Regions from separate parts of the Homo sapiens genome. Here regions 1 and 3 are each linked to region 2. The links are contacts of gene promoters, found by promoter capture Hi-C in blood cells and fetal thymus (Javierre and others, 2016). All regions are on one chromosome and are shown on one strand. Each heading gives the region's core, a stretch centred on a gene start or on the middle of the fragment in contact. The rest is flanking DNA. Distances are from core to core; before and after follow the strand shown.

What was found. Contacts are between HindIII fragments. The CHiCAGO score rates a contact against its expected background, and 5 or more counts as called.
Region 1: a fragment that was not itself captured here is called in contact with the fragment with the promoter of XRCC2 in region 2 in 1 of 17 cell types (fetal thymus); the score reaches 5.4 in fetal thymus.
Region 3: a fragment that was not itself captured here is called in contact with the fragment with the promoter of XRCC2 in region 2 in 5 of 17 cell types (total B cells, erythroblasts, non-activated CD4 T cells and 2 more); the score reaches 7.5 in total B cells.

The regions. Positions count from the first base shown.
Region 1 is chr7:152,133,484-152,136,183 of GRCh38, reverse strand. It overlaps KMT2C (lysine methyltransferase 2C), which reads left to right. Exons shown (of 59, transcript NM_170606.3): 59 at 1-1,259. LOC731075 (a long non-coding RNA gene) reads left to right here and starts at 1,612. Exons shown (of 3, transcript XR_001745432.2): 1 at 1,612-2,700. The HindIII fragment of the contact is 3,825 bases long and covers 1-2,700 here.
Region 2 is chr7:152,674,741-152,677,440 of GRCh38, reverse strand. It overlaps XRCC2 (X-ray repair cross complementing 2), which reads left to right and starts at 1,300. Exons shown (of 3, transcript NM_005431.2): 1 at 1,300-1,400. The coding sequence starts at 1,362. RefSeq lists silencers at 1,054-1,523, 1,824-1,913 and an enhancer at 979-1,823. The HindIII fragment of the contact is 16,438 bases long and covers 1-2,545 here.
Region 3 is chr7:152,149,969-152,152,668 of GRCh38, reverse strand. KMT2C (lysine methyltransferase 2C) reads left to right here. Exons shown (of 59, transcript NM_170606.3): 50 at 1,088-1,227; 51 at 1,662-1,769. Among named protein-coding and RNA genes, the nearest start is that of GALNT11, 130 kb to the right of the region's middle. The HindIII fragment of the contact is 2,531 bases long and covers 22-2,552 here.

The sequences.
Region 1 (2,700 bases), core at 139-2,638, 540 kb after region 2:
AACTTTTGTATTTATTATTGAATAAGTGAATGAAGCTATTTTTAAATAAAGTTAGAAGAAAGCCAAGCTGCTGCTGTTACCTGCAGAACTAACAAACCCTGTTACTTTGTACAGATATGTAAATATTTTGAGAAAAAATACAGTATAAAAATAGTTATTGACCAAATGCTACCAGGCTCTGCAGCAGCTCGGGGGCTTATAAAATGTTCATAGGGATGTTACAATATAATTTTGTGTTATAAAATATGCCATTATAATTATGTAATAACCAAAATTTCAACCTAGAGTGTTGGGGGTTTTTTGGAAACCGCAGTCTATTAGTACTCAATGGTTTTATACACCTTACTTCTGACAGAGCGGGGCGTATGCTACGACTACAACTTTTATAGCTGTTTTGGTAATTTAAACTAATTTTTTCATATTATATTGTTGCATCCCTACTTCTTCAGTCAGGTTTTTTTGTGCTTACAATTTGTGATAACTGTGAATAACTGCTTAAAAATACACCCAAATGGAGGCTGAATTTTTTCTTCAGCAAAAGTAGTTTTGATTAGAACTTTGTTTCAGCCACAGAGAATCATGTAAACGTAATAGGATCATGTAGCAGAAACTTAAATCTAACCCTTTAGCCTTCTATTTAACACAAAAATTTGAAAAAGTTAAAAAAAAAAAGGAGATGTGATTATGCTTACAGCTGCAGGACTCTGGCAATAGGGTTTTTGGAAGATGTAATTTTAAAATGTGTTTGTATGAACTGTTTGTTTACATTTCTTTAATAAAAAAAACACTGTTTTGTGTTTGCTTGTAGAAACTTAATCAGCATTTTGAACCAGGTTAGCTTTTTATTTTGTACTTAAAATTCTGGTACTGACACTTCACAGGCTAAGTATAAAATGAAGTTTTGTGTGCACAATTCAAGTGGACTGTAAACTGTTGGTATATTCAGTGATGCAGTTCTGAACTTGTATATGGCATGATGTATTTTTATCTTACAGAATAAATCAATTGTATATATTTTTCTCTTGATAAATAGCTGTATGAAATTTGTTTCCTGAATATTTTTCTTCTCTTGTACAATATCCTGACATCCTACCAGTATTTGTCCTACCGGGTTTTTGTTGTTTTCTGTTCTGTATAATAGTATCTAATGTTGGCAAAAATTGAATTTTTTGAAGTATACAGAGTGTTATGGGTTTTGGAATTTGTGGACACAGATTTAGAAGATCACCATTTACAAATAAAATATTTTACATCTATAAGAGCTGCCTAGAGCTTCTGTGTTAACTCCTCATATTCAAATTTGAGCTCTTAAATTGAGGATTGTCTGAAGTTCACTGACCATCTGATAGATCTTTCACAATTAGAGTGTTGATGCGATCAACTTGGTTTTCTTAGATTTTCAAATAAGTTTAGATGTAAATTCATAATTCATTCTAATTATGATACTTTTTCCTTCCCTTCGACTGAATAAAGAAGGGAACTTCTGTATCTTTTTAGGGTGTTTACCAAATTTAGAATATCCTTGGTGCCTTGTTCAAAGCCTGTTTTTGTTTAATTGGTAAATTTAGTCTTGGTTATGTTGCTGTTTTTTTTTTTTTTTTTTTTTTTTTGAGGCAGCTTTTCAGACTTTATTCTATGTGGTAGACTTTCTTTCTATCTTATTGAATTATTTAACGTATTAAATATAAAGGGGTTAAGAAAAAAACTGCTCAGAATCCCCTTTAGTTTCTAGGACAGATTTTTAACTGGGACTTCGCTAACACTAAAATAGCCAGCATTCCTAGTCCACCATGGAGCTTGCCTTCTAGTGAGGGGCACGGACAAAAACAGGTGACTTTTTTAGATGGGAGGTGGGCTGGGAGTCCCGTGGGGGCATTCTAAGGAGGCAGCATTTAAGCAAGACCTGAAGGATGAAGAGGAGCTGGGAGCGTGGCAGAGGCTTGCCTGGCAGAGGGGACAACTCATACAGGAGCCTTGAGATCTGAAAGAGGCTGATGCTGCCAGTAACTGAAAGGCAGGTGTGGCTGGGACAGAGTGGCAGGAGGTGAGATGAGAGAAAAGCAAGGGTGAGTGGCGCAGGTTTAGCTCGCGTGGGTCAGCAGGAAGCTGCTGCCGGACGGTGCTGAGTTCCCACTGTGCATAGAGGTGACACGCTGCCCAGAAGAGGTGGCCCGCCTGTGGGCACCAGCGTGTGTACACTGAGGCTGAGTGGGCTCCGTACGAGTCCCAGGAGGAGCAAGGGGTGCCCTGGGCTAGGCGGATGGTCGTGACATGGAGGGAGCTGGCAGCAGCTGAGGTGTTTTGCATGTAGATGGCTCAAACATTTCCCATTTCAAAACCGCCTTGTCTCAAGTCTCTCCTCAGCTTCTCCTATCCTCCTTTGGCCCCATGTCACGTGGAGGCTGCACTGCCCTCTGTCCTAGTCACCAAACAGAAACAAACACACTTAGTCTGATGTGGTGTCCGATGCGGTAGATGATCATCTGGCCATTAGGGTTTCCTGTCTCTGGTGGCGGTGGCAGCCGCTGTCTCTGAAATTCTCTCCAGCCCCTGCTTGTGGAGCAGAACCCTTTCCTGGCTTTCTTCCCACATTGCTGCTTTAATCTTTTCCCTCTAAGGTCTCTACCCCATTCTTTTTTCATCATTAAGGTATGTATTTAATAGTAATCTGAAAAACAGCCTTCGGGAGGCCAAGGCGGG
Region 2 (2,700 bases), core at 51-2,550:
TGAACCCGGGAGGCAGAGGTTGCAGTGAGCCGAGATGGTACCACTGCACTCCAGCCTGGGCGAGAGTGCAATGAGACTCCGTCTCCAAAAAAAAAAAAAAAAAGAAAAAAAGAAAAGTAAGTGGGGCACACGATTCAGGCCTAAGCTAACCAGACCAACCTCATTCCTGATGGTTGTTAATGTTTCAGATACGGGCCCGCAGCCCTACGTAGAGAAGAGGCCAAGGTAGAAAACATGAATCTGAGGTAAAAAGAAATGAGGTACTTGTTTGCCTCATCAAGCCTCTCAATTAAACTAACCTTGAAGCCTGTCTTACCTTTGGACTTCTAGTGATGTCACCCGGTAAAGCCCATTTGTTTCAGGACGTAAGAGTTGGGTTTTCTGTGACTTGGAACCAAAACCATTCCAATTTACAAAATGAGCAACTTTAATATTACCCATGAGAAATACTTCATTGGTATATGCTCTTTCCTAGCGTTTTTGAAAACTAAACTAGGTGGGTGAAAAGTATATCTTTGCATGAAACTTTTTCATTCCAGAAAACATTTTGTCATCTTGATAATAATGGCCAATGCTACTATATCCAAATTTTTGTCTTTTTTTTTTTTTGAGACAGAGTCTCGCTCTGCCGCTCAGGTGTGATGGCGCGATCTCGGCTCACTGCAACCTCTGCCTCCCTGGTTCAAGCGATTCTCCTGCCTCAGCCTCCCTGAGTAGCTGGGATTACAGGCATGCGCCACCACACCTGGCTAATTTTTGTATTTTTACTGTAGACGGGGTTTCACCATTTTGGCCAGGCTGGTCTCGAACTCCCGACTTCCAGTGATCCTCCTGCCTACCTCAAAAAGCAACTTGATAAATCCACAGGCTCGGTATATTTTAAAAATTCTTTTAAATACAGTATACTTTTCTCTTTTTTTCCAGAATTAACCATGAATCGCACACACAGCCAGAGGCTTTTAACCCGAGAACGGACAAAGGGGCCTGCTTGTGCAATACAATTATTTTTAATGGTTAAACAAATTAATACATAAGACCAGCTTTACCTAATATAATAATAACGAACCAAAGTTTACAACAGACAAGAAAAGCACCAGCTGTCCCCGCCACCCCGGAGCGATCTCCAAGGGGACGCGGGAGAGCGCCGCGGGGGACGCGGAAGTCTGACGTCACAGGAACTGGGGGCGGGGCGGGGAGGCCCGCACACCCTATTGCGCATGCTCCCGCCTCCCCGGCCGCGGCCTGGCGCAGTGCGCACGCGCGCGGGTGGGCGGGTTTGACTGGCCGTAGAGTCTGCGCAGTTGGTGAATGGCGTTGGTGGCGGGAAAGTTGAGTCTCTCCTGCGCCGAGCCTTCGGGGCGATGTGTAGTGCCTTCCATAGGGCTGAGTCTGGGACCGAGGTGAGAGCCGCCGGGTTGGGAGTGAGGGAGATGGGAACAAGGCCGCCGGTGGGCGAGGGGAGCCGAGGGAACCCGGGGGATTGGGAGGCTTGGGGCGGCGCGGCCTGGCCGGGCTGGGACCGGCCTCTCGGCCTAGACGCCCGCGATGCTGGCACCCTCTGCCACCTCTCACCTGGGCCCCAGGGGTCCGCCCCTGGGCAGCCTGGAGTCCTCCGAGGTGGGAGGACCGGGCGGAGGTGGAGGAAGTCTTTCTTTGGAAGACTTGCTGCCTGCCCAGATCGATATAACATACGAGGTCTCTCCTCCCAAGAGTTATGGTCTAAAAACCCCTCACAAATTAACTACCGTTGGAAATGTCAAGCTATGCAAGAAAAGCTAGAAAAGGGGAGGGGTCGCCCGTTGGAGCATTTGGAGCTTTTCTGGAACAGGTGGTGTTTGCGGAGGTTGCCTCACCTCCCTGTAGCCCACGTGTCTCTGCTTAGGGCAGCTGGCCCTCGCCACCCCCTAGTATTCGTTTCCAGCCCAGGTAGCTCCAGAGCCACACAAGCCGGTGGATGCCCCTCAAGAATTGAACCAAGTGTCCAGCACTTACTGTGTGTCAACTACGTGTTAAGGGATAGGAGTAAGCAACAAAAGACATAACTTCTGCCATTAAAGAACTAGTAAGGGAGGCTGCTGTAAGAATTACAGTATTGCACAAAAGTTTGTTGTCCATTAGAGGGGCGGGCATCATGGAAGATGCAGGAGGAGATGACTGAAGTTTCAAGGACCATTTGAAATGGTTTGGCAAGGAGAGGATGACATTCAGAGCGGAGACAGTCGGGAGTACATGGATTCTGAATTAAGCAAGAGCATGGCTAATTTAGATAACTGCAAGTATTTCTGTAAAATTGGAACAAAGGGAGTGAGGGACAATAGGTTGGGAAGTAAGCGCTGAGCAGTGGGCAGGGTATGAAGGATCTTTTATGCAGATGAGAGAGGAAGCAATCTCAAAAGAGTCAGCAAACATTTTTGTGGAGGGCCATGTGGTAAATATTTAGGCTTTGCAGGCCATGCCGTTTCTGTCACAGCCACTCAACTCTGCTGTTCTAATGGGAAGGCAGTCATAGATAAATAAAGGCACATGGCAGCGTTCCAATAAAGCTTTGTTTTTTGGATTTAGCCTGCTGGCCATAGTTTGATAATCCCTGTTCCTAAAGAGTAGAACCACTGCTTAGTATAAGAACGGCTACAGTTATAAACCATAGATATATATATATTTAAAAATATATTTATATATAATATATATTTAAAAATATAT
Region 3 (2,700 bases), core at 38-2,537, 520 kb after region 2:
TCCTGATTCAAAAGTTAAGCTTACTCTTTGAGATACTGATTATCTTTTAACAACGGACAGGTAACATGCTGGCGTATAGTCCTTGGTGAACTTACCATGTGTGGGTGTTCTGTTTTCTGTGCTGTGATTTTGACCTCTAGTGCTTTGGCCTGTGTATTCTGTCATGCTGTCACCAGGGGCTATGTGAGTGCCAGCCATCTGTGCAGGCTGCCAGAAGAAGCCTGTGACGGGCTTGCCCTTGAGCAGCTTTTGTTCTTCCTGTCTCCCAACCCCCATCCCGCTGCACCTGGGCCACCTGGTACAGATGGGGCTGGTGACCTGACGTGGGTTCTGTTTCCTGTTCTCCTCTGCTTTCCATCCTCACCTACCTCTTGTTTTACCTCTGCACCAGCTCTATAGGGCCCTTCTCTTCCCACAGAGGTGTTCATGCCCCCCATCTCTGAGAATGGAACAACTTCCTTAGACCGACCATGATGTCGCTTTCCTTCCTGCCTCACTGGCAATCTTACAGGCGTGCTCAGTCCAGGCCCTGGCTTCCTCCTCTTGGCTTCTAGCTGTTCTGTCACTTTTTCCCTGCTCCTTTTTGCCTTCACACTGCACCTGAATGATGCTTTCTAATTCCTGAGTCCTTATTTACCTTCTTATCCTTGGCCTTGGCTCTTTCCTCATTTCTGACTCTGCAAGTCACACTTATTTAAGACTCTTATACATATGTCATTGTATCTTTCATAAAATGTTTTTTTACCATCTTAACCTGCAAGCAAAAGTAATATCTGTTTCCCTCTCTGTCTTACTTTGTACTTAGACTGAATAGTAATCTCTCTTGGTGACTTAGTTTTATTAGATTCTTCTTTTATACTGCCATTGCTTTCCCAGCTATTTGAGAATAGGCATGTTTCTTTATTTTTGCCCTAGTGTCAGATAATCGACTCTGTAACCATTGCTTAGAAGATAAATTTTTTTTATTAATTAAAGAATAATGTTAATGAACCATGTTGTAATGAGTTGATACTGCATAATTTTTCACCATGTGCCACCTTGTGTCATCAGTCAGTTTTAATTACTAACAAAAGTTGATTGCCTTTAGGTCTTTCTGGATATAAGGATTCTAGTCATGGTATTGCAGAAAGCGCAGCACTCAGACCACAGTGGTGTTGTCATTGTAAAGTGGTTATTCTTGGAAGTGGTGTGCGGAAATCTTTCAAAGATCTGACCCTTTTGAACAAGGTACTTTGCTACTCCTTTTATGACCCCACCTCCTACCTCCAGCGAAAATGTCCTTGGCAGTGTCTCTTCCAACATCAGAGAGAGACACCACTTATGGTGGTGTGATGGACACATGTTCCTGGTGATGGCACCAGCGTATATCAGATGTGCTTGGGCTGAACACCAAAGAGCTACAACAGGCTGTTAAAGGGAATATTATGAGGACTACGTATTTTTAAATAGAGTGAACCGTGGACCACATAGTTTGGTTTTATACATGTATTTTTTCCCTAGCTAAATTATCACATGCTAAATATTGGAACATAGTTTCCTTTCTACTATTAAGATAAAGAACCACTGTCACTTTTGAATATAACATAAAAATAATGTATAGATCCTGTTTTTATTAAATTTTGACTTGTTGAGATTCCCACACATTTCTCTTTGCTTTTCAGGATTCCCGAGAAAGCACCAAGAGGGTAGAGAAGGACATTGTCTTCTGTAGTAATAACTGCTTTATTCTTTATTCATCAACTGCACAAGCGAAAAACTCAGAAAACAAGGTGAGATTAGGATAATCTCAGCTGATAACAATGTGTAACGAGTGACTTCTGTGTTCTGGGCATATGGGAGTGAATAAAGATGTGTCCCTGCCTTCATGGAGCTCTGTGTGGGGAATCCAAAGCAGGTGCTGACCCGGCAGAGGAGGAGAGGGTGTAGGGAGCCTTGAGTCGTGCTACTCTTTCAACTTAGTTATTTGACAGAAGTGGGCAGAGTTATGTTTTAAAAGTTCAGTAAACAGAACACTAATATTAAAATCTTTAATTTTACCAGTTTAATTTTTTTTTGAGATGGAGTCTCATTCTGGTCCCACAGGCTGAAGGGCATTGGCACCTCTTGGCTCACTGCAGACTCTGCCTCCCAATTCAAGCAATTCTCCTGCCTTAGCCTCCTGAGTAGCTGGGATTACAGGTGCGTGCCACCACGCCCAGCTAATTTTTGTAGTTTAGTAGAGATGGGGTTTCACCATGTTGGCCAGGCTGGTCTCAAACTCCTGACCTCGTGATCCGCCCACCTCAGCCTCTCAAAGTGCTGGGATTACAGGTGTGAGCCACTGCGCCCGGCCGTAAATATCTTAATATTTTAAAATCATTTTTATTGATGTTACCCCAATAGGAAAACCTGTTTAAAGATAAAATTTAAGACTATTTGTGCATTTTAAGAGAAAACACTTTGCTCACAGTATGGTGAAAGAGGTCTGCTTTACTTGATTTTATGTAATTTGAGTGTGTCCAACTAATGGTTGATACAAATGATATGTTTATAATCATGTTTTGAAGGAAGCTTTTCCTGTACAGTAATACTGCCAGTCATTCCTCCATCCAGGTTATTGCTCTGGTATGTCTTTCACAGAAGAACATTCTGAAGACTTATTTTTAACAGGTAGTTGTTTGTAGTATGCCTGTAATAAAATCTAGGCTAGATGACAAATAA